6 separate regions of the Homo sapiens genome follow, and all the other regions are linked to region 1. The links are contacts of gene promoters, found by promoter capture Hi-C in blood cells and fetal thymus (Javierre and others, 2016). All regions are on one chromosome and are shown on one strand. Each heading gives the region's core, a stretch centred on a gene start or on the middle of the fragment in contact. The rest is flanking DNA. Distances are from core to core; before and after follow the strand shown. Region 1 holds the start of SIK2 (salt inducible kinase 2). Region 2 overlaps ALG9 (ALG9 alpha-1,2-mannosyltransferase). Region 3 has its middle 33 kb from the start of PPP2R1B. Region 4 overlaps PPP2R1B (protein phosphatase 2 scaffold subunit Abeta). Region 5 overlaps ALG9 (ALG9 alpha-1,2-mannosyltransferase). Region 6 has its middle 6.0 kb from the start of PPP2R1B.

Region 1 (2,878 bases), core at 358-2,857:
AAGATAAGTCAGATTTGGACTGGTTCAGGACCAGCAGGGGAAGGCAAAAAGTAAAGAAGACAGAATGACATATACCCCTTCCTTTTGGAAACGGGATTAAGCAAAACTTCTAAGTACAACTGCAACTCCAAAAATCACTCACGTTTGCAAGTGCCCTTCGCCTTACATAAGTCATTCTGAAAAGAAGTCCTACTTTATTCTACACTCAAACTCCAGTACATTCGTACTAACAAGGGAAAAAGCAGAATAGGACCAAAACTGGAGGGCAAACAAACAGGAAAAGGATGAAACTCCAGGAGGAACTACAATAAGGCAGAGTAGAGTACGTCAAAACCACTAGGTTTTATTCTAAAGAATGGTTTTGTTTCTACCGTTCTTCTAAGGTATTTAATTTGCACGTCTTAAAATAGAGACCCTGAGGAGAGCAGCTTGAGGCAGTGGAAGGAAGGGGGGCGGGTTAGGTAAGAACAGAGACTTGTGAGAGAGTATGTGCGGTGCATTAGAATGTGCAATGAAGAGGGTGCAGGATTCACCGTCAGGAAGCAGTTGAGGGCTTTATGAGTAGAGGCAGAATCTGATATGGTTTAAAGAATGCGTATTACAGCCAGAATGCACACCTGGTACAGTGACAACCCTAGACAAGTAGAAGACCAATCCACCCACCGTGCAAATGCAGAGATGACCATTTTAACCAGTTCTATTGTCTGGGGCATTAAATGGAAATGCCCCAGGCAAGAGATCAAGCTAGCCAGACACCAAATCAGAGACACCCTGGGCCAAAAGGAAGGAGAGGAGATGGACAGTGGCCGTGGGGGTATTCCCAGCCATGGGGCCCTTCCTCGTCGGGCAGGGGAGGGGCGCCGGGGTCACGGGGGCCGCACGATCCCCCATCCGCGGAGCCCAAGCGCAGGCGGTCCCCTCCTCGGGCCGGCGACGTCTCTCACGGCGCAGCCTGGGAACACCGAGACTTCCCCTCCCACCCCACCCCCAGCCGAAAGCAGGGAAGACGCGGAACTTGGGCTCCGGAGCGGAGGCCACAGACCAGGTCACGGCCCGGGTGGGGGGCTCTGGGCGAAATTCCGGGTGGCCACCGGGGGTGGCGTAGGGGAAAGCAAAGCCCCGGCTGGTTGCGTTTCCAGTCGGACGACACTCGGGTCCGGGTGCCCGGGCCCGATCCCTTCGCTGCTCACCGACCCCCTGCACCTCCTGGGTCCTCACAGTCCCAGGCCCGCTCGCCTCCGCCAGTGAGGCGGCCTCTCGGGTCTCCCCGGTCCCACCACTGCGGCCGCCCCTCTCGGTAAGCAGCTCCTCTCCCGAACCCTCGCCTCGGACGCTCCCGCCGAGCCCCGGGCCGCACCTCCGTCTTGGTGATCCGGTGCCGCCCCAGCTTCACCACAGCGAAGTTGCCCTTGCCCAGCGTGCCCTCGATGTCGTAGAACCCCACCCGGACCGGCCCGCGCTGCAAGTGCCTCGGGCCATCCGCCATGACCATGCTGGGCCCCGCTGCTAGACACGGCGGACAGGAGCGCGGGCGGGCGGGAGGGTTGGCAGCGCGGCTTGGCTTGGGCGACGGCCGCTCCGCTTGCTCCTTCGCTCCTTCGCTCCTTCCCTCCCGCTCCCCAGGGCCCAGCCAGGCGCGCGCCGCCGCTGACGTGCGCCGACGTCAGGGGGCCGGGGCAGGGGGGCGGGGGCGGGCCCGAGCCTGGATTGGTCACCATGGCGACCGAAGCACCGCCGACGTCGGCTGCTGGAGAGTGGGGGACGGCGCACGGGGAGGGGCGCGAGCCTGGCCGGCGCGCTCCTTCCGGGCTCAGACGCCCTCCCCTCGCCCCTCCGCCTCACCGCTGCCAGGGGCGGGGTCGCTGCTCGGCCCGCTCCGTTCCTCGGCCTTCCAGGCGAAGGGCAAGAGCGAGCCCTGGCGGACCGTGCGGAGGGGTGCAGAGACCTGGATGCGGCCTGCGATCTCCTTCCCCGCCCCGGCGTTCTCCGCCCACCCGGGGTCCTTCCCGCCAAAACCTCTCACCTACAAGTACAGCGCGTCCTAAATTTGGCACCGGCAAAGAACTGTGGCTGAGCAATGCGTTGCTCACAGGCTCCTTTCTTTGTGTCCTTTTCTCTTCTCGTTGCTATATATAATAAAACCCTCCACGTTTTGATGTCTCCGAGGAGTCATTCTGACAGCAGTGCAGTCGCTTATAGACTCACAGAATGTCAATGTCAGCGCTGAAGAGATCTTGGAGATCACTTAATCCAGAGATTTGGAGCCTCATGTGAGCTTCAGAGTTTGGAACCCCCTAAAACACAGGCCAGTTTTTGCTTATGTGAGCATGTCTCTGGGGAGATGGACCCGTAGCTTCTGTCAGATTCCCAAACGCGTTGGTGACTCTGAAAAAGTTTAGAAATATTTCTCTAATCCAATTTTTTTCCCCAAAGGACGAAGAAGACCTCAAGGAATAAAGGGAATTGCCTAGGTCACACAGGCAATAGTCGAGGTAGGATTATAAATCACACCACGCTTCCAAATGTGACTCAAGGAAACAGGGACAGTGACACCTCACTATTTTGAGATGTATCATATGCCTTTATATCTTGGTTTCTAAATACCATTCTCCACCTAAAGGAGCCAGACTCCGTGGCGAGATGGCTCATTCGAGGGCAGAGACAGGGAAAGTATAAAATGCCCTTGAAAGATCCTGCTCCTTAAAGCAAGGAGATTTCTTGGCTATGTCAAGGAAGATATGTCAAAAGAAAGCAGATGGCTCGAAGGTGCTCCCCCCTTACCAAATCTGAGACAGTTTGAGTATCAGGAATAAATAATGGGCCGGGCTTAGTGGCTTACGCCTGTAATCCCAGCACTTTGGGAGGCTGAGGCGGGTGG
Region 2 (2,769 bases), core at 28-2,527, 230 kb before region 1:
CATAGCAGGACCCTCTCTCTGAAAAAATAAAAATTAAAAAAAGATTAAAAATGGTAGCATGATTTTACATATGTTAAATGGTTAAAAGTGCATAAATACTACAATAAATGTGGCTGTTTACTTTGCAGAAGACTTGAAGTTTGCTTGTGGCCTGGTATTGGAAGGATTGCAGCTTGTAGTAGTAAAAGGATTATCTGAAATCTTACAAAAGTTATAATAGCAAAGGTGAATGGGTGGATGTGGCTTATAACACAGTGAACTGAGAAGGCCAGTAGATATATTTGTGTATGTATACACTATGTGTATTCCTATGCTGATTGGTTCCACTGAGTGTACTTTTCTGCATTCACCTAGTGTTTCCTGTGAATTAAATGACATAATCAAATGCAAAAATTAAATTACGCTCAAAGTGTTCCCTAATATATCCCTTTGTTGGAAAAAATTTGCATTTTTGAAACTAGTATTAGAACAGAATTGACTGTATATCAGTTCAAAATATTCTTTATTTCATTCTTCTTTATCCCTGCTTTTCCAGTTTAACCAGTAAAAAGAATCATAGATTTAGAAGGGAACTTAAAATGTAGTCTGTGATCTTTTTATTTTATGGATGAAAGAACTGAGATCTAGAGAGATTATAACTTGATAAAGATTAGCCCTAGGATAAAAGGCTTGGTTTCAGGATTCTTCAATATTATTTTCATACCACCTCTTTCTTGTTTTTGTGTGATAGCTAATCATTCTTTGATGTTACAAGGCCAAATAGACATTAAGTAGCTGAGCATTGCTTTCTGTTTGTTTGTTTTGTTTTGTTTTTCAGAGGCAGGGTCTCACTCTGTCACCCAGGCTGGAGTGCAGTGTCATCATCATAGCTCACTATAGCCTCGAACTCCTGGGCTCAATCGATCTTCCCACCTCAGCCTCCTGAGTAGCTGAGACTACAGGTGCTGTAAAGACCCTGTCTCTATGGAGAATTAGGCTGGCATGGTGGCTCACACCTGCAATCTCAGCACTTTGGGAGGCCGAGGTGGGAGGATCACCTGAGGTCAGGAGTTCAAGATCAGCTTGGCCAACATGGTGAAACCCCGTCTCTACTAAAAATACAAAAATTAGCCAGGCATGATGATGTGCACCTGTAATACCAGCTACTTAGGAGGCTGAGGCAGGAGAATCACTTGAACCCAGGAGGCGGAGGTTGCAGTCAGCCGAGATGGCGCCACTGCACTCCAGCCTCGGTGACGGAGCGAGACTCTGTTTAAAAAAAAAAATTTAAATTAGCCACTACCCCTAGCTAATTTTTAAATTTTTTGTGGAGAGAGGGCCTCACTGTCTTGCCCAGGCTGGTCTCGAACTCCAGGCTTCAAGTGATCCTTCTGCCTTGACCTCCCAAAGTGGCGGGATTACAGGTGTGAGCCACTGTGCCCAACTCATTACTTTTTTAAAAAATTACTTTCCATTTCTAGTTTATATATGACAGGTACTTACTTTAAGTAGTAAATATTATGTTTAACAATAAATAAAAATGATCAGGATTTCCCCCGACATGCTTTCCTTTCTTCTCTTTTTCTTCCTTTCTCTCTCATTTTATCCCTTCTCCTGCCCTTTTTGGAAGTCCTTATTGGAGGAAAAAATAACTTGCCCTATTTGTTTCCTCACTAATTGTTATCAGTCTCGGGTATCAAGGCAAGCAGATTCAAATTGCTGTAATATATACAGTGCAATTAGATTAGAGTCTACTAAGAATTTAATTGGAGAATGTTCAAAATACTTCTCTAAAGTTAATTTTTTTAGTATTCATTATGTTGGCATTTAGAAATTAATTGATGTTTCCATGATCTATAATGATTGAATGAACAAAAATTTTTACCTGTGAGTTTAGATTTTTACAGTGCAATGAATTTTTTCTTGTGAGTTTAAAGATTCAATCAACAAATATGTATTTAGCAAGGCTATATGAGAGACAAAAAACTAAGACAGTCTGTGGCTCTGGAGGACAACTACTTTTTAAAATTTAACTGGAGCATATCTAAAAGAGGAAATGAAAAGACAGAAAAATACTTGAAATTTTTCCCTTTCAGATGTTTCCTCCCAGGCCTCCATGTTCTTATTTCAATAAAGGAAATATCATGGGAGGATATTGATGATTGGCTATTTGATAGTGGCAAGAGCATTGACTGGAAGTTAGGAGAGTCTGATTCTTTTCTGGAATCAAGTGAAATGTATTTTCCTTTTAAATGACTGGGAATTTCTAAGACCATTGACATTTCTTTGCTTCCCTTTCCAATTTGCTGAAACTACACCTGAAATCCAACTGGAGTGTTTATATTTTAGCTTATCCCATTACCTATTTTCCTGTCAAATATTTTATGGCAGCACAGTTTATCTTGAGACATGTGTCCTGAGCCGGGGCCCTCATGACCAGAGATGGAAGTCTACATGCTGCTTCTGTCCTGGAAGAGATGAGTACTGTTAGAGGCTTACTCTGTGCTGTGTCCCGCTCCAAGAGTGTGATGCTGGTGTTTGAGAGTTGAGATGATGTCACTGAAGACTGCAACCCTGACAAAGTTTCTGTTACAGCTGATGAGGAAAAGCTGTGACAATATTTATTACTACCCAGCTCTCCTTAGCTCACTCTTCCCCCGACAAAATACACATCTTTTATTATTGGGATCTCAACCTCTGTTTCAGGCCTTCTATTTCCTTTGAGAATGTGTAGTTTTGTTTACATCTGGAGTGGTATTAAATTGTTATCCTTAACATATGCTTGTTTAT
Region 3 (2,991 bases), core at 193-2,692, 130 kb before region 1:
AGCTGTGAGGGACATTCAGTCTCCATGCCGAGCCCAGGTTTGGAGACTAAAATCAAGTGAAGCATCCATAAATAATGGCTACAGACACTGCCTGACTGCGCCCACCCTCCTCCTCTTCCTTTTCTCTGCACACAGTCTGTCCTGTACACACACTGACCCGAGACCAGCCCCTGCGCCACGTCCCAGCTAAGACCATCTTCTGCCTTCCATGCCCCTTCTACTCTTGTTTCTGGTTTTTTCCTGCCTGCCTTATTTTCCCCAAACTCAGAGAGTCCCTTGGGCCCTGAGGGTCTCTGACTTGTGCCTTTCGATGCGGGTCTCTTCTCTGGATTTAATCAGCACCTGCTGGTGAACCAGGCTGTTCTGGGCCTGAGGCTGGAGCCATTCTGCAGCTCAGGAACCTCACTTGTCCTAGAGCCAGCCTCTAGCATCTAGCTGCATGTCCTGTTCCTCCCACAGAGTTAGGCTGGCAGGGCCTTCGCGCTGCCCTGGGGGGTCTCAAGGGCAGCTCTGAGGAGCTCTGCTGGGAGTGTGTGAAGGGGAGGAGCTCCTTAAGGGCCAACCTCTTGGCCAGCGGATTTTGTTCTCTTGAACCCAGAAAGACTACAGGAGATGTGAGTCCAGTCAAACTGAGGACTGATGACAAAGACCAAAGCCCAGGGATGTTCAGTCCCATCCCCAGTGGCTTCCAGCTAAGGCAATTGGACCTTGAAGTCCATGGGGAAGTCAGACGTAGGCTGGTGACAGGGCACACGGGAGCAGGTCCTTAGGCTGACCTCCTGTCAGTGCCCTCTCCACTGTGGGGCCTAGGGGCCGAGCTGTCCGCACAAAAAGACTCCCCCAGGCCTTCCAAGTCTTTTCCACACTGGAGCTTGACCTAACAGTTGGAGATAAAAAAGTCCTCCTACCTGTGACATAGATTCTCAGGGATGTTCTTATGTTTGTGGTACCCATGTCTGATGCCTAGAACTCATTTCCGAAAATTCAGAAATCCTGGGGCAGAGTTCCCAGTTCTTAGCCTGAAGCAGATGCTCAGAACAGCACAACCACCCTTAAGTCAGTGAAGACAGAGCTCACAGGCAAGAAGCAGCCATTTTCTGTACCTAGTGTTGGGGCAGGCAAGAGTTAAAGTAAGATAGGCAGAGTGGGACTCTGTGACAGCCCTCCAGGGGAGTGGGGGTCTTCCAGGAGTGCCAGGCCAGGCTGCATTTGCCCCTCGCAGTAAACCCTGGGGTGAAACCAGCCAGCCTGTGCTCCAAGTTACCACTGGAGACACCAGCCTTTACAATGATTTGCCTGGGTTAGTGGCAGGGCTGAGAGGGCGCCAGGGGCCGAGGCCTCTGTCAGAGGTTCTTTGCTGCCTCCCAGAATGTCCCTGCCTGGAGGGTGGCCAGGTGGTGGCTCCCGGGCTGGGTGGGAGCCGGGCCTTGCTCTCCCAGGCTTGCTCTGTGCCTAGCCCTCCTTGCCTGGCCCTCTCATCCCTGGTTCCCTTCCACTGCCTGCCTGCCCTTCAGCCCTCACTTTGCTGGCACAGGGGCACTGCTAAGCATTTGGGCTCTGTAGCGACTGGAAGGCAGTTCTGGCGGATCCCAGACAGAAGAGACAGGCAAGGCTGTGCGCTCCGGGAGCTATGTGTGGCGTGCTTGGAGGAAAGGGCTTGGTGGGCTTTTCCTCCATTCCATTGTGTCCCACCCCCAACTATGTGGGTGGCCCTGGGGTGACAATGAACAGTCTCCTCAGGGTCTGATTTGTCAGTCAGCCCCACTCGGGGCATTTCACTTTTGGGGAGTGAGGAGCTGGAGCCAGAACTGTCCCAGCCGACCTGAGGAGAGAGTGACTCAGTTCTCCCTTTGAGAAGCTCAATCCCTAATGCCTCATTTTCCTCTGGGCCCACATTTTCTGAGCTTTTCTGCTTATCCAGCTTTTGGGGGCTCGGCTCCAGGGGAAGTCCGCTTCCCATGCTGTGGCTCCCTCCTGTCTCCACCCTCCCAGACACTGTGCTGGCTCGGGGGCTCAGCCCAGCTCATGCTTTCCCTGGGCTTGGAATCTCTCTTTGCCAATTTCAGAGCAGCTCTGAGTCAGTCTGCCCTAGGAAATCCCCCCAGAAACACGGACAAAGGGAGGCAGCAGCAGGAAGGCTTGCTGGAAAGAACAGTGGCCGAGGCGCCTGGCAAGCTCTCTGCCCTGCCTGACCTTGGGTTTGGCCTGAGTGATTTGTGGGCACAGCTTCATACCTGGGGGGAGGCAGGTGTGCCAGTGGCCCCTGTGTCTGAGGGAGGGCCCAGCCCCTTCGCCTCAGTCAGGACCCACATCTGCCTCCTAAGGGACGTTGTCCAGGATGATTCCTGTGCGATAATCCATCGCTCAAGGGCTGCTCAGCTTTTGAAGTCACTGGTGGGGCTGAAATGAGAAGGGCAGAGCAGCCATGTTCTGTGCAGGTGACATTTCCTTTGTAGCCACATAGCACCCAGGATTTAGTGCACAAAGCCCAGAACTTCCTCCCATGGTGCCCACGGGCTGCTGGCAAGCAGGAGGCTCCCTGTCACCTGGATCCACCCAGGGAGGGATGAGAACCCATCAGCAGGGAGGGTCCCTCTGAGCTTTGTTTGTTTGTTTATTTGTTTTTTGAGATGAAGTCTTGCTGTGTCGCTCAGGCTGGAGTGCAGTGGTGCGATCTCAGCTCACTGCAACCTCTGCCTACCAGGTTCAAGTGATTCTCCTGCCTCAGTCTCCAGAGTAGCTAGGATTACAGGCGCCCGCCACCACACCTGGCTAATTTTTGTATTTTTAGTGGAGATGGGGTTTCACCATGTTGGCCAGGCTGGTCTTGAACTCCTGACCTCAGATGATCCACCTGCCTCTGCCTCCCAAGGTGTTGGGATTACAGGTGTCAGCCACAGCACCTGGCCAAGAACTTTTGAGAGAGCAGAGGCTGAGTCAGGGGTTCCTAACTTTGGTCCCTGGTGGGGAGGGGGGCCTCGGGGGCCCAGG
Region 4 (2,700 bases), core at 83-2,582, 150 kb before region 1:
CCTTAATCTCATTATTTTTGTTTGTTTGTTTACCTTAAAGCTCTTTGAGTTTAAAGGTTGACAGGGAATGAATGGGGAAGATGTGTTAATGTGCAACATTGTTATTCATCACTTATTAGCCCATTGTAATTGTAAACTGCTCTTTGGTGCATAGGTTTATGTTACCTAACAAGTAGTCTGAGGAAACATTATCAACTAATCAGTATTGAAATAGTGCTGTCTTTAAATTCCTTGGGGTCAGGCATGGTGGTACATGCCTGTAATCCAAGCACTTTGGGACGCTGAGGTGGGAGGATTTCTTGAGCCCAGGAGTTTGAGACCAGCCTGGGCAACATAGTGAGACCCCATTGCTACAAAAAATACAAAAATTAGTTGAGCCTGGTGGCATGCACCTGTAGTACCAGCTACTTGGGAGTCTGAGGTGGGAGGATTGCTTGAGCCCAGGAGGTTGAGATGGCAGTGAGCTATGATCATGCCACTGTACTCCAGCCTAGGTGACAGGGTGAGACACTGTCTCAAAAAAAAAAAAATTAGGCCAGGCGTGGTGGCTCACACCTGTAATCCCAGCGCTTTGAGAGGCCAAGGTAAGAGGATTGCATGAACCCAGGAGTTCAAGACCAGCCCTGGCAATGTAGTAAGAACCTGTCTCTGCAAAAAATGAAAAAAATTAGCCAGGCCTGGTGGTGCATGTCTGTAGACCCAGCTACTCTGGAGGCTGAAGTGCTTGAGCCTGGGAGGGTGAGGCTGCAGTGAGCCAAGGTCATGCCACTGCACTCCAGCCTGGGCAACAGAGCAAGACTCTGTTTCCCAGAATAATGGTATGGAAGTTTCTGTTGTCTTGTAATAAAGGCTTTTAATTTCGATTTTATTTTAGGAATTAGTATCCGATACCAATCAACATGTCAAATCGGCTCTAGCTTCTGTAATTATGGGATTGTCTACTATTTTGGGCAAAGAAAATACCATTGAACATCTTCTACCTCTTTTCTTAGCTCAGTTAAAGGATGAGGTGGGTCTTGCTTTATGTTCTGTTGCCTTTGATAGTAATTTGATTTTATTTGATTTTGGTTTAGGGTTTCATTAAAATAGAACCCCCAAAAAGAAAATGGATAAAAAAATCATAACTTATTTTAAACCAATGACACCTGTGATTTTGGGTATGGGGTTATAGGTTCCTCAGAAAGTGGGCAAAAGTACCCATTAGAGTAAACCTAGAAATATCTGTTTATCATCTTTACCTGATTTTTGCTTTATACTCCCTGGTTTCTTTAAAGCTAATGTGTCTTTGTTTAAAAAGTTTCATTTATTTAAGTTTAAATATAGTATCAAAAATTATAATGATACCTAATATTTACTGAGTAATTACTACATGGCAAGCATGAGCCTTAGTGCTTTGCATGTATTTTTACATGCAATTCTCACAACAATCCTGTGAGGTAGGTCTTATTATTATCCCTTTTTGTTTGTTTGTTTGTTTGTTTTGTTTTTTGAGACGGAGTCTTGCTCTGTCGCCCAGGCTGGAGTGCAGTGGCGCAATCTCTGCTCACTGCAAGCTCCGCCTCCTGAGTTGATGCCATTCTCTTGCCTCAGCCTCCTGAGTAGCTGGGACTACAGGCGCCTGCCACAGCACCCAGCTAATTTTTTGTATTTTTAGTAGAGACGGGGTTTCACTGTGGTCTCGATCTCCTGACCTCGTGATCTGCCCGTCTCGGCCTCCCAAAGTGCTGGGATTACAGGTGTGAGCCACCGCACCCGGCCAATTATCCCATTTTACAGATGAGAAAGCTGAGGCATAGAGGGTTAAAGTAACTTGAGCAAGGTCTTTCAACAATGACAGATCTGAAATTTGAGTGCATCTGATTTAGTTCCAGAGATTATGCTCTTTACCATCTTACGGACTTTTCTTGTAGTCTTTAGTATTACGGACTTTTAATTGAAATTTCTGATTAAGATCATTTATGTTCCTTGAGTTATTTATGTATTCACTATTATTTCTTCAAGATTATCCATTTTTTTTTCACCTGAGTCTTACCTCACCTTTTATCTTACCCTGACAGGAGACTGTTGGGCAGAGTACTTGATTTTTAAATGTGGTCTTTTGGGGCTTGTGTACTTGCAGTGTCCTGACGTTCGTTTGAATATCATCTCCAATTTGGATTGTGTAAATGAAGTGATTGGAATCCGTCAGCTCTCTCAGTCTCTCCTTCCTGCCATAGTGGAGCTGGCAGAAGATGCCAAATGGAGGGTCCGCCTGGCCATCATTGAGTATATGCCGCTGCTGGCAGGCCAGCTGGTGAGTATGTGTTGCTCCATGAACTGCAGGGTAGTGTCAGATAGTGACAATTTACCATGGCAAGTAGGAGGCCTAGTAGCCTGTATGCTTATGTTTGTTTAGATGCATGAAAGTATGGCCTTGTTCTTGTTACCTATAGGATGGTTTTTATGTTTGTTAGTGCATACGTTTCTTTTCTTTTAAGATGGAGTTTCACTGTTGTTGCCCAGGCTGGAGTGCAATGATGCAATCTTGGCTCACTGCAACCTCCACCTCCTGGGTTTAAGCGATTCTCCTGTCTCAGCCTCCCAAGTAGCTGGGATTACAGGAATATGCCACCACACCCAGCTAATTTTGTATTTTTAATAGAGATGGGGTTTTACCATGTTGGTCAGGCTGGTCTTGAATTCCTGACCTCAGGTGATTCA
Region 5 (2,700 bases), core at 103-2,602, 190 kb before region 1:
TTAGCTCCAGCATAAGCAGAACTATTTCTCTATGGAAGATAAGACGACTGGAGTGATTACTGTAAAGGGCAAATTAGCCAGAAGCATTTGTTCCAGCTATTGCTGTGTAACAGTCATCCATACTTAGTGGCGTAAAACAACAATAGTTGATTATTGTTTCTTCTCGTGGTTCTGGGAGTTGATGGGCTCAACTGGCCAGTTCTTACTCAGGATCTGTAATGCATTAGCCATCAGATAGTGGCTGGGGCTGGAGGCAGCTGAGTGGCTTTCTCACTCATATGTCTGGATGCTGGCTCTTGGCTAGATCTCAGCTGGGGCTGTCAGCCAGAACACCTATGTGTCTTCTTTATGTGGCTTGGGCTTCCTTATAGCATGGTGGCTGACTTCCAAGAGTAAGCATCTCAAGACCTGCATAATTTTTTATGACCTAGCCTTGGAAGTCACACAGTATCACTTCCTCCTCATTCTGTTTGTTGGCAGCAAGCCAGTTGAATAGCTCATGCTCAAGGGGAAAAGAAGTAGACTTCCCCTGTTGATGGGAGGAGTGTCAAAGAAGTATGGACATGCTTTAAAGCCACTACTTATCTTGCAATGCCGTTCTCCATCCAAATTGGATAAACTTTGAAACTTTTCTTTTTAAAGGTGATTTCTTACAGAAGAGGCATATAGTACATGCAGTAGTCCAGCAGGCTTTTTCCATCTGCAACTTCTTATTACCCAGATGGAAGGAGAGACTCCACCCGATGGCAGAATTTGGTTGCAGGCCAAGTTTGACATGCTTCAGATGGTGCTTCCCTCCTTTGGGTAGAATTAGTTCTCCCTCCTAAGCAGTAATTGGAGTTTTTTGTTTTTTCCCTGTATGTCAATCATGGTGGTGCCCTTAGCTTCCTCAGCGATGCCAAGAATACTGAGAAACAGGAAGAAGAGATCAGAGTTTCTATACTTTGGTATTTATCAACTTTTATTCTCTTATACTTTCTGTTTCACTGTCTATCAGTTTTTGGCTTTTCCTCCTCATATTCTCCCAGAATACTTTCTTGAGACCCTTCGTCTGGCAGAGCTACCCCAGGCCAGATTTGGCTTCAAAACACATGGTGTTTTGCCATTATTCAGCTGCTTAATCATTAAGATCTGCTGACATTTTAAGAAGAATAAACCTTTTTTCATTTTTCTGAAGCTTAGAGAGTCTGCTTTCCATTGTTGTGAAATGAGTTCTCTAGAAAGAAACCATTTACAGACCATCTGTTCTCTAAGTCCATGCCATAGAAGCTCTCAGGTTTGAAGAGCATGTAACATGTTTTAGGACCACCACTGCTTTTAGCTGGCTTAGCCTAAGCAGGCAGCATCATCAGAGGTCTTTGTTCCAAGTTCCTTGAGAGTTAGAACCACATTACATGTTGATTCTCTACAACTCCTAGCACATTATAGAGTCTTAGAAAATATGTATTGATTGTGTATTTCACATTCTTAAAACTGGATTTATACTAAATAGAAAAAAGATGGTATAAGGTTTTCTTCAGAAGCTTCTGATGCCCTTATTTGGTAAAATAAAGATTATTGAATTATTTTAAGACATACTCATTGTTTATTTCATCTCTGTAAAGCTTACCAGAATCATTTGCTGATGTGACCCCTAATCCTTCTATTTGTCACATAAAAGAAGCCCAAATGAGGGTCCGAAGAGCAGGGACGAAAACTCTCTCGAACATTGGCATCCTCTCCACAGGACTGATGAATGGGACATAGAGTACCTTTATATCTAAGTAGCTGTGAGATGGGAAAAAAGACTGGTGAAGAGCATTTCTCCAGCAACCTTGATGGGACTGAGGTCAGAAAATGGCCAGTTGCCTAATAGCATTTTTCCCCAGTTCCTCACTCTGAATATTTGCTAAAGATGACTGATCAAAAGGTTATGATGTTATGCCAGATGTTGGCCAAGGCCACAAATCAGTGGAATGATCCACTCTGTATACCAGTCTCACGATGCCACGATTCCAGTTTGTGCCTCAGTAAACTTCCTAGTCATTACACATAATGTATTTTTGGAGGTTGCTCCATATAGTCAAAATCATGAATATTTATTGAACATCAAGGGTCTATTGAACATGCCTGCTGAAAGTAAAATATCATACTGGTCACATGGATAATGCTGATTCAGCAAATTCTGTGTAAACGGCCACCTGCGGGGTATATTGCCATTATACAATTATGGGACCTTTTGCAGTATATTTTCTTTAGCAACACGCCTTCCATGCCCCCTTGCACTCTGACATCCCATGGGCCACCACAGCCCCCCAGCTCCCCACTCTAGACTTCTGCTTTGCTCTGCCCCACGTAATGGCTTTAGGATTGAATTGCTTAGGAAGAGAACAGAAAAAAAACTTTAGATTATTTTTGATATTTCCTTTTCCTTGTGGAAGATGAATATTGTAAGAAGGGTGGGAGGTAAACCAGATGCTCTGGTTTAAGAGTCAGAGCATAGGCGCTCATTCATTCACAGACTATTTATTGAGGACTTTCTGTGGCACTTTCCTAAAAACTAGAGATAGAGCAGTTAGATAAAATTCCATCCTCAAGGGACTGGTGGAGTATAACATACAGCATGGAACTCCTCTTTTGGATAACAGGGTTGTAAGTCACCTTTGCATTAGTTACCATTAGAATAATGTCTCTCACCGCATTTCCTGTTAAAAACTATTA
Region 6 (2,723 bases), core at 64-2,563, 170 kb before region 1:
TGAGACCCTGTCTCAAAAAAAAAAAAAAGCAAAAACAAAAGATGATTTTCGTATTAGCCATTTAGGAGCTATGCTTTTTCACTTAACACCATAACAAAACATTTTTTTCCGAGTGGTATATAGGCCCCTGGCAAGATAATGGGGGTTCTGGCCTGAGAACACTGGAGCCCTTTAATAGGACTCAAAGGCCTAAGGCTTTTGAGAAAGGTCACTGTGCCTGTTTATCTTCAGGTTTTCCGTAGCTTAAATCTACCCTTGTGACGCCCATAATCCCAGCACTTTGGGAGGCGAAGGCAGGCGAATCACCTGAGTTCAGGAGTTTGAGAGCAGCCTGGCGAACATGGTGAAACCCCGTCTCTACTAAAAATACAAAAATTAGCCAGGCATGGTGGCACATGCCTGTAGTCCCAGCTACTTGGGAGGCTGAGGCAGAAGAATCACTTGGACCCGGGAGGTGGAAGTTGCAGTGAGCTGAGATTGCCCCATTGTACTACAGCCTGGGCAACAAAGCAAGACTCAGTCTCAGGAAACAAAAAAAAAATCTACCATTGTGGCTAAAGGAGATACTAATCCTGACTGCTGTTCTTAGAGAACTGGGGCCTGTACACCTTGAACATAGTCTCCAGATGTACTCTCTTGTGTTTGGCATGGGCATCAGATTCAGTGAGCCCTTTGTAATAAATAATACAACTTCTGTATTTTTTTTTTTTTAAGTAGAGAGGGAGTTTCACTATGTTAGCCAGGATGGTCTCGATCTCCTGACCTCGTGATCCGCCTGCCTCGGCCTCCCAGAGTGCTGAGATTACAGGCGTGAGCCACCGCACCCGGCCTAAATAACACAACTTCTAACATCTGCATGGTGCTTTCCACTAACAAAGCACCTTTCATCATGACTCTCACTCCTCACAAGTCTGAGAGGTAAAAGCTCTATTTTACCGATGAAAAAAATCTTCTGGAACAGGTATTCTGACTCTGTAAGTCATGTACCTCTTTCATTCTTTCATGTGGGTCCTTTCTGTTGCCAAAGTTCAATTGATTGCAATATTTTCCTATTTGCTCCCACTTCCTCAGTAGATAAAAACTGTTAATGGATAGTATTTGAGTGCTTTCTCTTGCCAGGCACTACCTATGCACTTTATATGAATTATTTAATCTTTTTAACAACCACATGAGGTAAGCTCAACAGCCCCACCGTATAAATGTAGAAACCAAGATTCAGAGAGGATAGGTTATTTGCCCAAAGTCACACAGCTAGTAATTGGTAGAGGTGGGATTTCAATCTACATCTTCCTGACTCCAGAGTATACTCTCCTAACCATTGTATGTACTATTGTGAAAGGTAACTGAGTGTCCTCTTTCTTTTTCTTTTTTCTTGCTATATTGCCCAGGCTGGAGTGCAGTGGTGCAATCATGGCTAACTGCAGCCTCTGCCTCCCAGGCTCAAGCGATTCTCCCACCTCACCCTCCCAAATAACTGGTACTACAGTCAGGCACCTCTGTGCCCGGCTAATTTTTGTATTTTTTGTAGAGATGAGGTTTTACCATGTTGCCTAGGCTGGTCTCAAACTCCTGAGCTCCAGAGATCTGCCCACCTGGACTTCCCAAAGTGCTGGGATTACAGGCATGAGCCACCTCACCACCTTGCCCGGCTGTCCTATTTCTTTGATTTGCTCTTCCCAAGAATTCAAGCAAAGTTTGCCTTGGAAATCCAATACCTTTGTTATATGTGGTGATGAGCTGTAGAACAGAGGTAGGAGATGGAGGAGGGAGTAGCAATAATCCCTGATTATGAGTTCTGCACCTGCTTCTGATTTATTGGGACATCAGGTAAAGTCCCTTTCTCTTTGTTGGGGTATTCCCACCCATAAAAATGAGATTAAAAATTTGCCATGAAGAAAACACAGAAGAAAAAGAAGGCTAAAATATTGAGCTGAAATTGAAGGGAAAATATTTGAGTTCCACAGAATGGTGACATACTTTGCATAAATACAAATTTAAAATATCATTAATGCTATGGTGATAATCACTACTTTGCGATGAATTAAGTACAGCCCTCGGAATCAGTTTACCAGGGTCATCTTGCCAAATGAAGACAGTTGGAAAATGCTTCCGTGTGCCTCAGGTTTCCCGCCCCTGTCATCCACCACTCCCTTGATGTCCCTTTCAGGGGGACAACAGTCTGAATCTGCCCTGAGACACTTACAGGTCTCCTACACTTGGCCTTCTCACACAGTGGGGTGACTGTGGAGCAGATCAGCATTTGAATGAGAACCTATTTGTAAAGCTCTTTGGCTGTAAGGGAGACGCAAGTTTAGTAAACTTGAGGCAAGGGGCCAGAGAAGATGACAGTGATGTCACTTCGATCCTCATGACTGATGCTTTTCTTTTTCCCAGTGGCGCTATCTCGGCTCACCACAACATCTGCCTCCTGGGTTCAAGCGATTCTCCTGCCTCAGCCTCCTGAGTATCTGGGATTACAGGCATGCACCACCACACCTGGCTAATTTTTGCATTTTTAGTAGAGACAGGGTTTCACTATGTTGGCCAGGCTGGCCTCAAACTCCTGACCTCAGGTGATCCACCCTCCTCGGCCTCCCACAGTGCTGGGATTACAGGCATGAGCCACCACGCCCGGCCAATGACTGATGGTTTTCTGATGTGACTTTGAGAGCTGTTAATGTGAGCAAGAGTTGATGGCCGTCGATCCCATCTGCCTGTACTTC

Evidence for each region. The method cuts DNA at HindIII sites, captures the fragments that hold promoters and counts their contacts. A CHiCAGO score of 5 or more calls a contact.
Region 2: a contact is called between a fragment that was not itself captured here and the fragment with the promoter of SIK2 in region 1, in 8 of 17 cell types (megakaryocytes, total CD4 T cells, erythroblasts and 5 more). The highest score is 9.1, in megakaryocytes.
Region 3: a fragment that was not itself captured here is called in contact with the fragment with the promoter of SIK2 in region 1 in 5 of 17 cell types (endothelial precursors, naive B cells, naive CD8 T cells and 2 more); the score reaches 7.0 in endothelial precursors.
Region 4: a fragment that was not itself captured here is called in contact with the fragment with the promoter of SIK2 in region 1 in 6 of 17 cell types (naive CD4 T cells, naive CD8 T cells, erythroblasts and 3 more); the score reaches 6.7 in naive CD4 T cells.
Region 5: a fragment that was not itself captured here is called in contact with the fragment with the promoter of SIK2 in region 1 in 6 of 17 cell types (naive B cells, erythroblasts, activated CD4 T cells and 3 more); the score reaches 7.2 in naive B cells.
Region 6: a fragment that was not itself captured here is called in contact with the fragment with the promoter of SIK2 in region 1 in 16 of 17 cell types (erythroblasts, total CD8 T cells, endothelial precursors and 13 more); the score reaches 17.5 in erythroblasts.

The regions. Positions count from the first base shown.
Region 1 is chr11:111,601,178-111,604,055 of GRCh38, reverse strand. It overlaps SIK2 (salt inducible kinase 2), which reads right to left and starts at 1,607. Exons shown (of 15, transcript NM_015191.3): 1 at 1,358-1,607. The coding sequence starts at 1,492. RefSeq lists silencers at 842-1,001, 1,552-1,991 and an enhancer at 2,082-2,221. The HindIII fragment of the contact is 10,147 bases long and covers 1-2,878 here.
Region 2 is chr11:111,829,545-111,832,313 of GRCh38, reverse strand. The region is part of intron 13 of ALG9 (ALG9 alpha-1,2-mannosyltransferase); the gene reads left to right. Among named protein-coding and RNA genes, the nearest start is that of ALG9, 41 kb to the left of the region's middle. RefSeq lists an enhancer at 2,473-2,612. The HindIII fragment of the contact is 3,201 bases long and covers 1-2,769 here.
Region 3 is chr11:111,732,327-111,735,317 of GRCh38, reverse strand. It overlaps a transcript of PPP2R1B not described here. Among named protein-coding and RNA genes, the nearest start is that of PPP2R1B, 33 kb to the left of the region's middle. RefSeq lists enhancers at 1-274, 1,855-2,671. The HindIII fragment of the contact is 8,776 bases long and covers 1-2,991 here.
Region 4 is chr11:111,751,752-111,754,451 of GRCh38, reverse strand. PPP2R1B (protein phosphatase 2 scaffold subunit Abeta) reads left to right here. Exons shown (of 15, transcript NM_002716.5): 9 at 875-1,009; 10 at 2,120-2,293. Among named protein-coding and RNA genes, the nearest start is that of PPP2R1B, 13 kb to the left of the region's middle. The HindIII fragment of the contact is 4,602 bases long and covers 1-2,700 here.
Region 5 is chr11:111,794,984-111,797,683 of GRCh38, reverse strand. The region is part of intron 14 of ALG9 (ALG9 alpha-1,2-mannosyltransferase); the gene reads left to right. It overlaps LOC124902756 (a long non-coding RNA gene), which reads right to left. Exons shown (of 2, transcript XR_007062891.1): 1 at 1,610-2,700; 2 at 1-907. Among named protein-coding and RNA genes, the nearest start is that of PPP2R1B, 30 kb to the right of the region's middle. RefSeq lists a silencer at 396-475. The HindIII fragment of the contact is 346 bases long and covers 1,180-1,525 here.
Region 6 is chr11:111,771,064-111,773,786 of GRCh38, reverse strand. It overlaps a transcript of ALG9 not described here. Among named protein-coding and RNA genes, the nearest start is that of PPP2R1B, 6.0 kb to the right of the region's middle. The HindIII fragment of the contact is 5,513 bases long and covers 1-2,723 here.